Regions from separate parts of the Homo sapiens genome. Here all the other regions are linked to region 1. The links are contacts of gene promoters, found by promoter capture Hi-C in blood cells and fetal thymus (Javierre and others, 2016). All regions are on one chromosome and are shown on one strand. Each heading gives the region's core, a stretch centred on a gene start or on the middle of the fragment in contact. The rest is flanking DNA. Distances are from core to core; before and after follow the strand shown. Region 1 holds the start of TNNT3 (troponin T3, fast skeletal type). Region 2 has its middle 4.9 kb from the start of FAM99B. Region 3 has its middle 4.8 kb from the start of KRTAP5-6. Region 4 has its middle 25 kb from the start of IFITM10.

The links. The method cuts DNA at HindIII sites, captures the fragments that hold promoters and counts their contacts. A CHiCAGO score of 5 or more calls a contact.
Region 2: a fragment that was not itself captured here is called in contact with the fragment with the promoter of TNNT3 in region 1 in 2 of 17 cell types (monocytes and neutrophils); the score reaches 6.1 in monocytes.
Region 3: a contact is called between a fragment that was not itself captured here and the fragment with the promoter of TNNT3 in region 1, in 4 of 17 cell types (neutrophils, monocytes, total CD8 T cells and 1 more). The highest score is 8.3, in neutrophils.
Region 4: a contact is called between a fragment that was not itself captured here and the fragment with the promoter of TNNT3 in region 1, in 1 of 17 cell types (monocytes). The highest score is 7.3, in monocytes.

The regions. Positions count from the first base shown.
Region 1 is chr11:1,918,157-1,921,213 of GRCh38, reverse strand. It overlaps TNNT3 (troponin T3, fast skeletal type), which reads right to left and starts at 1,511. Exons shown (of 16, transcript NM_006757.4): 1 at 1,452-1,511. The HindIII fragment of the contact is 31,744 bases long and covers 1-3,057 here.
Region 2 is chr11:1,679,220-1,682,276 of GRCh38, reverse strand. No RefSeq gene overlaps it. Among named protein-coding and RNA genes, the nearest start is that of FAM99B, 4.9 kb to the left of the region's middle. The HindIII fragment of the contact is 3,513 bases long and covers 1-3,057 here.
Region 3 is chr11:1,700,423-1,703,479 of GRCh38, reverse strand. No RefSeq gene overlaps it. Among named protein-coding and RNA genes, the nearest start is that of KRTAP5-6, 4.8 kb to the right of the region's middle. The HindIII fragment of the contact is 6,583 bases long and covers 1-3,057 here.
Region 4 is chr11:1,724,266-1,727,322 of GRCh38, reverse strand. No RefSeq gene overlaps it. Among named protein-coding and RNA genes, the nearest start is that of IFITM10, 25 kb to the left of the region's middle. The HindIII fragment of the contact is 2,242 bases long and covers 355-2,596 here.

The DNA.
Region 1 (3,057 bases), core at 262-2,761:
GAGCCAGTGGCAGCTGAGGTGTCCAGAAATAGGCAAGACGTTTCTGCCCAGAAACCCAAGACGTGGGTGAGGCGGGTGTGACAGCCCAGCCCTCCTTGGCCCACAGCTGCCCCCTCACCCTCGGGCACCCAGGCCCTCCCCAGCTCCTCATATTTCCCTCCTGTCCCCCCAGGCCAGAGTCACATGGGTGCCCCAACACCCTCAGGCAGGGTGACCTCCAGGCCCCCCGACGTGCGCTGGAAAGGCCCACTCTCCAAGTGGGGAAACTGAGGCACCTGGTTTTCTGCTGAGCGCCTGGAAGCAACACAAGGCTGTTCTGTTCCCCCCAGTATGGCCTGTGTCATTGCCTCTGTTGCGGGGAGGGGCTGGTGGCAGGGGTGTGCTGGGGGCAGGGGTGTGCTGGGGGCAGGGGATGGCATTTCAACAGCTGAGACGCAAAGCAGGTGTCCAGTTAGTGCCTGCCTTGGAGGGGCTGCGTGAAAATAACCTATGCGGTCAGTTTCTTCGGGCACGTATGCATCACCTTTCCCTCCTTGGGAGGTGACGGGGCCAGGGCAGGGTGGGGAGGCAAAAGCCGCTGCCCCTTGCTTGCTGTGGCCCTGACCATGCCCCCAGACCTGTTCTCCACCCAGCCAACCTTTGCTTTGCCCCATGTCCCTCCGTGGACTTCAGGAGGGGCAGCCAAGGCCTGATCAGACGGCACAAGTCAGGGGGACCGTGTCCAGGGCAGGGAGGGTGGGTGGGGGCTCTTACGAGCGCCAGCTTCTCCAGCCTCCAGCCAGGGGGACGCGATGAAGCCCAGCCCCTCACTCTTGCCCCGTCCTGCCCCAGTCCAGCCCCTGTCCACTTCTGTCCTGCACCTCCAGACGCTGGCCCCCAAGGCTGCGTGGGCTTTAGACGCCCCCACCCCAACACACTCGGGCTGGCCATACAGGAGCCCCTGCCCTCCTGTCCTCGTTTTCATCTCTACAAAATGGCGGTGTTGGAGGCCCAGGTGCGAGAGCTGCATGGCAAGGCCAGGACGGGCCTGGGCAAATGTCTGCATGGCGACCACAAGCTGGCAACCTAAGCCCTGGCAGCACCCCTGCACAGCCTCTTCCCTGCCGCTCACAGCCCGCACCTCTCTGCCTCCTGCCCTCAGGCCACTCCCTAGCACTGAGCTTCCCTGAGCCCCGACTTGCCCCCTCCTGGCCTCCCACACTCTGCCTTCTTCTGCATCCTCCCGGTGCTGAGACCATCACACCACCATGTCCGCATCCCAGACTCTCCGGACGCTGGAGCAGCCACCTGGGGGCTCCGAGCCATGATGCTTCGAGATGCTCGGCACCACACGGACCTGGGACCTCAGCGCCCCAGGACCCCAGAGTGTCCCTGGAACGAGGGGCTGTCCACCCGCACGCAGGAGGCCCCGTCGGCCCCAGTCCTGGGTGGCCGCTCCTGCCTATACCCACCTGCGGGTCGAGTGTGAGAAGGGCTGGAGCTCCCTGTGGACAGCACCGGCTGCAGGCACTGGCGCCCGGCTCACACCCTCGTGTTATAGTGACATTTGATCTTCCTAGGAGCCCATTGGCCAGTGACTGGGTGGCCGGGGTGTGTGCGGAGTCTTGCTGGGGGGGGCTATGCCCGTGCAGGCCCCTTACCAAGTATAGGAATGGCCAGAGGAGGAGGCTGAAGGAGGCCAGGATGCAGAGGACGTGCTTGGAGAAGGAGGCAAGGTCCTCCCTCCGCCTCCAGGAGGTGTCAGCTGCTATTTTTACTCCCAGCAGCGGGTACATTCTGGATGGGCTGAGGAGGGAGGAGGAAGGTGTTGGGTGGCCCCGGGGCACCAAGCCGAGGCTCTCTTTGGGCCAAACTAGTGTGGGGGTCCCCAGAGCCAGGCTGCCGGGTTTCCCACCCCCCCGCCCCTTCTCTCTGAGATGTTCTGTGGGAGTAAACATTTGTCCAGGAAAAGGGTCCGCACAGCCGGGGTCCCCTCCCGCCGCCCGGCCCAATGCCCCAGGCCCTTCGCTGTCTCCCCCGGGGAGGAAGCAGCCTGAGGCCTCGGAGACCCCCCATGGAACTGAGGCCAGGCCCCCACCCTATCTGAGACCCTCTTAGAGGCCAGCTCTGCTTTCCTGGCTAGACACCGTTGGGGCCTACACAATAAGCGGGCGAGGGACATGGCCAGGCTGGCTGCAGTCCGAGTCTGCCATACCTCCCCCCGGGGCTGCTGCCATTGCAGGGGGCTACACATGGAGTTTGCTGGGTAAGGGTCTGGGTCCTCCCTCTAGGCCCTTTCTAACCCTGGGGCCCCACCCTGGGCACTCGCAGTGGCCGTTACCATCTGTGCCAGCATCTCCCACAGGCTCATTGTGGCGTGTGGAGACTGGTTTTCTTTCCTCAGGACTCCAGGTGGCACCGTCCGACTAGCAGACATCCTTCCTGGCCTCTGATGGCCTGTATGCTGGCCAGTGAGGCCACCAGATTGGATAACCCTGCCTCTTGGATCAGGGAAACTGAGGCACCAGGTGGGGGAGAGCAGTCTGGCACCCTGACCCACCCCCTCACTCCCCTCAGACCCCACAGGCTGAGCGTGGGCGGTGGTGTCTGCGGAACTCTTCGGTTCAGGCACAGATTGGTTCCTTCTTGGCCAGCGCCCAGGACAGGGGTGAGTCCCGAGAGGCACAGATGAGGTCCCTGTCCTCCCCAGGCTTAGAGTCAGGGACAACAGGATAACCCGGCAGGGGCTCACAGTGCCCTGGGGCCGGGTCGGGGGCCTTCCGGAAGGCTGTGGTTGGCACCTCATTCCACCCCTCCATGGAAGAGCGAGGCCGCAGAGCCCAGGGACAGGCAAGGTGTGCCTGGGGTCACACGACAAGGCGGGCTGGCCCCAGGCTGCCATTTCAAAGGACAGGGCCGGTCCCCTGCCTGCCTCCCGCTGAGTGCCCGGCACTGGGAAGGCTCTTGGAGCTGGGGTTGCTGGGAACGTCGCCGTCCTCCTGCTCTGGGTCTGTGGCTTCGTCTGCATTCCACGCCTTCCCCTCCCTGTCCATGTCCTCGATGGGCAAGGCTTTGGGG
Region 2 (3,057 bases), core at 337-2,836, 240 kb after region 1:
CCATGTTACATTCCACACGCAGTGAATGTCATACCGTTTCTCCGAATCTCTGCCAGCATTTGGTCTTGTTATTATATTTTGCGTTAGCTGTTCTAATAGGTACGGAGAAATATTGGGTCATGGTCCCAGCCTGTGTTTCCCTGGGGCCACGCGGGTTGAAGGCCGTTTTGTGACTTCATCTGCCATCTCCACCTTGTCTCCATGATCCTTCTTTCATTGGATTATTTGGCCCTGTTCCGTTGAGTTTTGAGAGTTCTTCTTATATTCTAGATACGAGTCCTTTGTCAGACATGGGTTTTGCAAACATTTTCTCCCAGCCCACAGCTTATCTTTTCATCCATCCTAACAGGATCTTTCACGGCATAAAAGTTTTTAATTTCAATGAGATCTAATTCATTGATTTAAAATATATATGAATCATGCTTTTGATGTTATATCTAGGAAGTCCTTGCCAAGCCCCAGGTCCTGGACACTTTCTTCTATTCTAAAAGTGTTATTGTTTTTGATCCAATTTGAGTTAATTTCCTTTATTTTTACTTTTTTTTTTTTTTTGGGGGGGGACGGAGTCTTACTCTGTCTCCCAGGCTGGAGTTCAGTGGCGTGATCTTGGCTCACTGCGACCTCCAACCCCCAGGTTTAAATGATTCTCATGTCTCAGCCTCCCAAGTAGCTGGGATTACAGGTGCCTGCCACCACGCCTGGATAATTTTTGTTTATTAATGTATTTATTTATTTCGAGACGAGTCTCTCTCTGTTGCCCAGACTGGAGTGCAGTGGCATGATCTTGGCTCACTGCAACCTCTGCCTCCTGGGTTCAAGCGATTCTCCTGCCTCAGCCTCCCAAGTAGCTGGGATTACAGGTGCCTGCCACCACGCCCAGCTAATTTTTGTATTTTTCATAGAGACAGGGTTTCACCATGTTGGCCAGGCTGGTTTCGAACTCCCGATCTCAAGTGATCTGCCAGCCTCGGCCTCCCAAAGTGCTGGGATTACAGGCATGAGCCACTGTGCCCAGCCCCAGTTTGAGTTAATTTTCATATGAACGTGTAGGTCTACGGCCATTTTTGAACCCATGAGTCTGCTCTAGCATGGCTTGTTGGGAAAGCGGCTCTTCTGGCATTGACGGCTCTTGGTCCCTTGTGGGAGGCCAGGTGGCCGTGATCCTGGGGGTCTGCACGCCCCTTTACCTCCACTCTCTCTCTTCCCTGGGGTGACACTCTCTTTTTCAATTTTCTATTTTTTTAATTTTAATTAATTTTTTTTTTTTTAATTTTAGAGATGAGGTCTCACTATGTAGCCCAGGCAGGTCTAGAACTCTAGCCTCAAGAGATCCTCCTTCCTCAGGCTCCCAAAGTGCTAGGATTACATGCATGAGCTGCTGTGCCCACACCCACGGTGACACTCTTGATTACGGGAGCTTTTGAGTAACTCTTAACATTGAGGGGCACGATTCTTCCTTTCTTCTTCTTTTATCATTTAGCTATTCTAGTTCCTTTGCCCCTTTGTACACATTTTAGAATCAATTTATCTAATAAAAAATATTTTTGATATTTTGGTGTGTTGATTAATATGTATTCCTGGTATTTTTGATAAAAAATCTATCTAGATCAATTTAGGAAAAACTAAATTAAAATATAAAAGCACTCAATGTAATTTACTACATTAATATATTTATTGAGAAAAACTATATAGATGACACTCAAAACTATTCCCTAAAACTTAGCCCCTCTGTGAATTTTAAAGTTTTTCTTTTTCTAAACATTATTCCATAAAAAGTGTGAGAATTAATATTCATACGTTTAGTCCATTTTTCTACTGAGCTGCTATTGATTTGTATAATCAATTTGGATATCAGAGATATTAATTTTTATTGTTATATTTGTAAGAAACATTTTCTCTGAATCTGTACTATGTCATTTTTTTACTGTGATTTTCAATAAAGAAGTGTTTCCTTTTGAAACAGTGAAATCTCCCAGACACTCCGTTAACAATGCTTGTGTTTCGCGCCATGCTTTAAGGCCCCCCCAATATCGGGAATACATTCCCCACATGTCCTTCCAGGAATTTTGTACTTTTATTTTTTTGTGTGCATTTGGATTCCTCGTGGATGTGCTCCAGCTGAGATGGGACTGCCTAGCTGGGTGGTTGCTCTGTGTCTCAGCTGAGACGGAGATGGGACTGCCTTGCTGCAGGTGCGTGGTTCTGTTGTTACGTCCTCTGCAGCAGGCCCTGTCTCTTCCTGCTGGCTCAGACACCCCGTCCACGGGGTCCTGAGTTACACTGAGAAGGCTGCCAGGGCCCGGCTCCACTTCCTCCTTCAATTTATGTAATCCAGAAGCAAGGCAGTGCTGTTTTAATAACTGTAGCTTTATAGTCTGTTCTGATAGCTGTCTGGGAAATCACCACTCATTCTTCTTCCTTTATATTTTGCTTTTAAATTTTTAATGGCTATAAAAATTTAAAAAAATTATAAAGACATCCCCCCAAAATTTAATGGCTACACTTGCCTATACATTTTGATGAGAATTTTAGAGAAAACTTGGCAAGATAAAAGTAATTATTTATTTTAATTGGAATATAATTAAATCCATAGGTTGATTTTTAGAGACCTGAAGTTGTAAGTGTTCTCAATCAAGAAGCCTGTTATATCTCTCCATTTATTTACATCTTATGGGTAGGAGGCTTTTTTTTTTTTTTTTTTTGAGATGGGGTTTCACTCTCATTGCCCAGGCTGGAGTGCAATGGTGTAATCTTGGCACATTGCAACCTCCGCCTCCTGGGTTCAAGTGATTCCCCTGCCTCAGCCTCCCAAGCAGTTGGGATTATAGGCATGAGCCACCATGCCGAGCTAAGTTTTTGTATTTTTAGTAGAGACTGGGTTTCGCCATGTTGGCCAGGGTGGTTTCGAACTCTTGACCTCAAGTGACCTGGCCTCCTCAGCCTCCCAAAGTACTGGGATTACAGGTGTGAGCCACTGTGCCCGGCTGCCCATAGAATTCTATAATTTTAAAATTATAAATGGGAAATGTTGTCATGTGGTATTTTCTCTACATAGTG
Region 3 (3,057 bases), core at 283-2,782, 220 kb after region 1:
ATATTTTGTTAGATTTATAACTTTTTATTTTTGGACGTATTTCAGAAAACACACTATGTTTTAGGGCAGTTTTAGGTTCACAGCAAAATTGAGTTGAATGTATAGAAAATTACCGTATTTCACCTGCTGCCACACCTACATAACGTCCCCTGCTGTTAGCATCCTACACTAGGGTGGCCCATTTGTCATCATTGATGAGCCAACATTGACACGTGGTGAGCACCCAAAGTCCAGACCTAACCTTCACCTCCACTCTTCATGTTGTACGTTCTACAACACAAATGATGAACGTGGAATGCCATTTATTCACCATCACAGTATCATATAGAACAGTTTTGGGCCGGGCACGCTCACTCCTGTAATCCCAGCACTTTGGGAGGCCAAGGCAGGTGGATCACCTGAGGTCAGGAGTTTGAGACCAGCCTGGCCAACATGGTGATATCCCACACACACCTCGGTCATGTGTGTCTGCTCTTTTTTCTTGTCTGTCTTGCTACAGGCTTATCTTTTTTGATCTTTATTTATTGATCTTTATTGATCTTTTCAAAGAACCAGATTTTGGTTTAATTAATTTTCTTGTTTTATTTTTTTTATTTTTTTGAGATGGAATTTCACTCTGTTGCCCGGGCTGGAGTGTGGTGGCACGATCTCAGCTCAGTTCTCTGCAACCTCTGCCTCCTGGGTTCAGCTATTCTCCTGCCTCAGCCTCCCAAGTAGCTTACATTACAATCATGGGCCACCACGTCAGGCTAATTTTTGTACTTTTAGTGGAGATGGGGTTTTGCCGTGTTGGCCAGGCTGGTCTCGAACACCTGACCTCAAGTGATCCACCCACCTCGGCCTCCCGAAGTGCTGGGATTATAGGCGTGAATCACCACGCCTGGCTGGTTGAATAAATTTTCTCCGTTGTTTTGCTATTTTCTATTGCATTGATTTCTAATTTTATATGCATACATACACACTTATCCATAAATTTATATATTTTTTCCTGCTTGCTTTCAGATTATTTGTTCCTTGAAGGTTATGTAGAATTAACCAATGAAACCATCTGGCCTTGAAGGGTTTTTTTGTGTGGGAAGGCTTTTAACTACAAATTCTGTTTCTTGATAGAGATATTCAGGCTCCCTCTTCCTTCTTGAGTTTGGTGGTTCATGTCTTTCGAGCAATTGGTCCCTTTCCTCTTAGTTTCCAAATGTATGCGGCGTGCAGTATTCCTGCATTATCCTTTTAATGTCCGTGGGACCCGAAGTGATATCCCTTTTCTCATTCCTGATATTGGTAATTTGCATCTTCTTTCTTTTTCATCTTGCCAGTCTTGCTAAAATTTAAAAAATATGTTGATCTTTTCAAAGAACCAGCTTGACTATATTCTTTGTTTATATCTTTTTAATGGTTGTTCTAGAGTACGGGTATATTGCTTACTTTTGCACTGTGTACTTAGAATCGATATTTCACTAATTTAGGTGGAATCCAGGAATCTTCCCGCAATAGAGACCACTTGTCTCATAAATGACAAATACTCATTTTGAAAACCCCACCAGAGAATGGTGTGATTTTTGTTTACAACATCAAACACATTTTGAAGAGAATAACCCATTAGATTTACCCATATGTTCACCTAAAACTCTGAGGATAGGAAACTTTCTCTCTCAGAAGAGCCTTCGTGGTCCCAAGACAGTGGGTGAGCCCATTGTTTTAAATATTTAGCTGGTATTTTATCTCCTCATGTCCTCATTCATGGCCCTTGGTGTCTCCATGTGTCTCTGACTGCGGGTGCTGGCTCTTGCCCACGGTGGCTGCTTTCCTTGTGTGCTTGTGGTTTTCTGCTGTGAGCTCATGTTTGCCTCGGCTGTAGGTGGGGAGCTCAGGGCCTTGGCTGAGGACACAGACTTTGTCTGAAGTTTTGCTGCACTTCCTTCCACCGGGCTGCTCTGGGTCCTATCAATTCAGGACCACTTTAAGTGACTTGCTCAGCTTGTGGTTTTCTGGACCACAAAACTGATGCCAATGTGTGCCTCCCACCTGGATAATGGTGGGCCTGAAGTTGTCACTTCTCAAAGGAAATGTTTTTATCACCCATCTCAGACTCAGCAAACGTATTTCTCTGCTGTCTCCTTCTGGCAGTGGCTGGGTTGCCTTCTAGCTGCCCCCATGAGAGGGCACAGTCCCTTCCTTCTGGCAGCGGCTGGGTTGCCTTCTAGCCACCCCCATCAGAGGGCACAGTCCCTTCCGGGATCTCTGCTTTGGGCAGCAGCTCTGAGCTCCAACCACCCACTGTGCAGAACAAAGACTTGTCTTCTGCATTGCACCCTCCCACGCAGCTCTTAAAACCAAATCCTCTGAGTGCGTGTGCATGCTGCGCTGCACTCTTACAATTCAGGACCCAGCAACAGCCGCGAACGGGGCAAATTCCATGCAACACAGTGGATGAACCTCGCCAACATAGTCTGGGGCCAAAGGAGCTGGCCATGAGAGGACACGGCCTACGATGGCGTTTTATGAAGTCCAGTAACAGACAAAACTGGTGTCTGATGGGATAATTCAAGCTCATGGTTACTCTTGGTGGGGAGTGGGTAGCAATTAGAAATGGGTGCTTCTGGGGTGCCGGAATGTTCTATTTCTTGTTCTGAGGGCCAGTTCTAGGAAGGTGTTCAGCTTTTGTGGAAACTTATTGAGTTCTACATGGATACCTTGTCCACTTTTTTATAGTTTTATTTTAATACAATGTGGCAACAGCAGCGAGGGACCCTCTTCCCTGAGGGGCACCTCTATTCCACAGCTGTCACCCCAACTGACTCTTCACTCTGAAACGTGACAGAGCGTATTTCTGCTGTAAACTGTGCTGCTCCCTCCTCCAGGTGATGAAGCCTATGTGTCCCCTCTTTCCCTTTTTGCTCTGACTGCTAGGGAGCTCACATTAAAGGCTGGGCTCTCTGGTTGTCATTTTCCTGGATCTGGATGCCATGATATCGATGTCTCTTCTACCCTTTCTGGTCTTTTTTGGGTGGTTTTATTCCTGGGGAACTTTCACTCTAACATAATCCACACTTTTTGGGT
Region 4 (3,057 bases), core at 226-2,725, 190 kb after region 1:
TATTAGCTGTGGCAGCCTGAGGTGACTAATATCCTGCCAAAAACGCACAGCCAAACACCAGGCAGACCCAAACTGAGGGATCGTGAGAATAGATCTGGCCTATAATCAGAAGTGTCGAGGTCATGAACGTCAAGGAAAGATTGAGGAACCATTCCAGACAAATGTAATTAGGCACACTCTCACTCTGCAGTTTGTCTTTTCACTGTCTTAATGTTATATTCTGATAACTAAGTTATTTTTTATTAAATTCCATTTATAATTTTTATCTTGTATGACTGATGTTTTTCATGTCCTGTTAATTTTTAATTTCTTTTTTCTTTATTTTTTTTTTACTCACTTCAGGGTCATGAAGCTTTTCTCTTAATAGCTTTATTGTTCTGCCTTTTGGATCTAGGTCTGTGCTCCACCTTGGATGAATTTTTGTGTATGATGTGAGGTGGGAGGTCGGGGGAGCTGAGGACACTGTAGGTCCTCCACCCAGGTCTGCTTGGGTCATACCACTGTTCCTCTGTGCCCCACCCCCAGCCTCAGTGTGCATCTGTCTCCAAGAGTCCACGACTGAGATGGTACTTGGGAAGACCCTGTATCTGGACTTCATATCCCTTTCACAGTCTTTAGTCACTGCTGTTTCCGGCTGGAGCCCCAAAGCCAAGCTCCCCTGTCTGCATCAAGATAAACTTATGATCTATGATCAAGAGTTGCCATTGATTAGGCAGAAGCTGGGCCTGCACAGAAACCCCCACTCTCCTGAAATCTTACTTCCCTTCCCCCATTTTCCTAGGAGCATGTCCCCAGTAAATTACAGACATGGAGATCTTCTCACTTCTGGTTCTGCTGCCGGAGAACCTGAACCAACTCCGGGGCAATGTTAGTATTTTTATTCTTCCCATAGAGACGTCCCAGTGCTGCCATGTCCCTCATGGAGAAGACCATCTTTCCCCCACTAAGTTGCAGGGGCCCTCAGTGGTTTGTTGGGTGGCCGTAGAGACGTGGTGCATGTGTTTCTGGACTTCAGTCTGTCCCACTGGTCTATTTATCTGACTTTACAGCAGCATCAGACTGTCTCCATTCCTGTGGGAATACTATCTGTATTAAGTCTTCATAACTGGTAATGTTTTTCAAGGAATTTTTCCATTTCATTGAAGCTGCCAGATGTATTGACATAAAGTTGTTCATAGTATATTTTTATTCCATTTTGGATGTCTGTACCCACATTTTCATTTCTGATCATCCTATTTCATACTCTTGACAACTTTTGATTCTCTTTATTCTTGGTCAGTCTTGTAGATAATTATCAATATACTTATTTAAAAAAGAAAAGTTTGCCTGTGGGTCTTTCCATTGTGTGTCTGCTTTTCATTTCATTAATTTTTGTTCCTAACTTTATTATTCCCTTTCTTGTAATTTCTTTGGGTTTAAATTGCTGTTTTTCCCTCCAGCCTCTTTGGTGAATAATTCTTTTTAACTTTCTTTTTTCATAATATAATGAATTAATTTAAATCCATAAATATCCTACAAGTTTTGATATTATATATGTTTTATTATCATTTGTTTCAATATAGTTTCTGAGTTCTATCCTGATTTCTTTTTTGAATCCTTGATTACATAGACACTTGGTTAATTTGCAGACATTCAGATTTTTTTTTTTCTGAGACGGAGCCTCGCTCTGTCACCCAGGCTGGAGTGCAGTGGCACCACCATCTCGGCTCACTGCAAGCTCCGCCTCCCGGGTTCACACCATTCTCCTGCCTCAGCCTCCCGAGTAGCTGGGACTACAGGCGCCTGTCACCTCGCCCGGCTAATTGTTTTGTATTTTTAGTAGAGACGGGGTTTCACCGTGTTAGCCAGGATGGTCTCGATCTCCTGATCTCGTGATCTGCCCACCTCGGCCTCCCAAAGTGCTGGGATTACAGACGTGAGCCACCGTGCCCGGCAGACATTCAGATTTTTATAGTGATTATTATTGTTTTTTTCTTTGAGACAGAGTTTCGCTCTACACTCGCCCCCACTGGAGTGCAGTGGCGCAATCTCAGCTCACTGCGACTTCCGCCTTCCAGGTTCAAGCGATTCTCCTGCCTCAGCGTCCCGAGTAGGTAGGACTACAGGCACCCACCACTACGCCCAGCTAATTTTTTGCATTTTTAGTAGAGACCATGTTGGCCAGGCTGGTCTCAAACTCCTGGCCTCAGGTCATCTGCCCGCCTCGGCCTCCCAAAGTGCTGGGATTAAAGGCGTGAGCCACCACGCCCGGCCTGTAGTTATCCTTCTGTTCTCAGTATCTGGCTTTATTTTTACTATTGTCAGGGAACATTCCCTAGATCATTTCAATACTTTAACAATGCATGAGGCTTCTTTTTGAAGCAGATTTTGGTCTGTTCCTGTAACTGTGTCTATGTGCACTTGAAAAGATGTTTATTTTCCAGTTATTGGCTGTAAATTTTAATTATTTCCAGTGGTTAATTATGTTGTTGAAATCTTCTCCTGCCTTACTGATTTCATTTTCAGTCTAATTGTCCTATCAGTTGCTGAGAGACGTGCATTACGGCCTCCAACTCTGATTGTAGATTTGTCTATGTCTCCTTGCCACTGTCAAGCTTTGCTTTTGCGTATTTTAAGCAACGCTATCAGATGAATGGAAGTTTAGAATTGTCGTGTCTTTTTGATTGATCTTTTTGAAATTATCAAGTGATTCATTTTATTGGTAGCAATATTTCTTTTATTAAGTCTACTTCCTTTCTGATGTTTATTTAACTACCTCTGCTTTCTTTTGGGTAATGTTTGTAAGCTATATCATATTTCGATTCCAATCTGTGCATATCCTTTAATTATATCTTTTATAAAAAACTATTTATGTATTTATTTAGATGGAATCTTGCTCTGTCACCCAGGCTGGAGTGCAGTGGTGCCATCTCGGCTCACTGCAACCTCCGCCTCTCAGGTTCAAGCGATTCCCCTGCCTCAGCCTCCCGAGTAGCTGGGATCACAGGCGTGTGCCACCACGCCCAGCTAGTTTTTGTATTTCTAGTAGAGATGGGGTTTAGCCATGTTGGCCAGGCT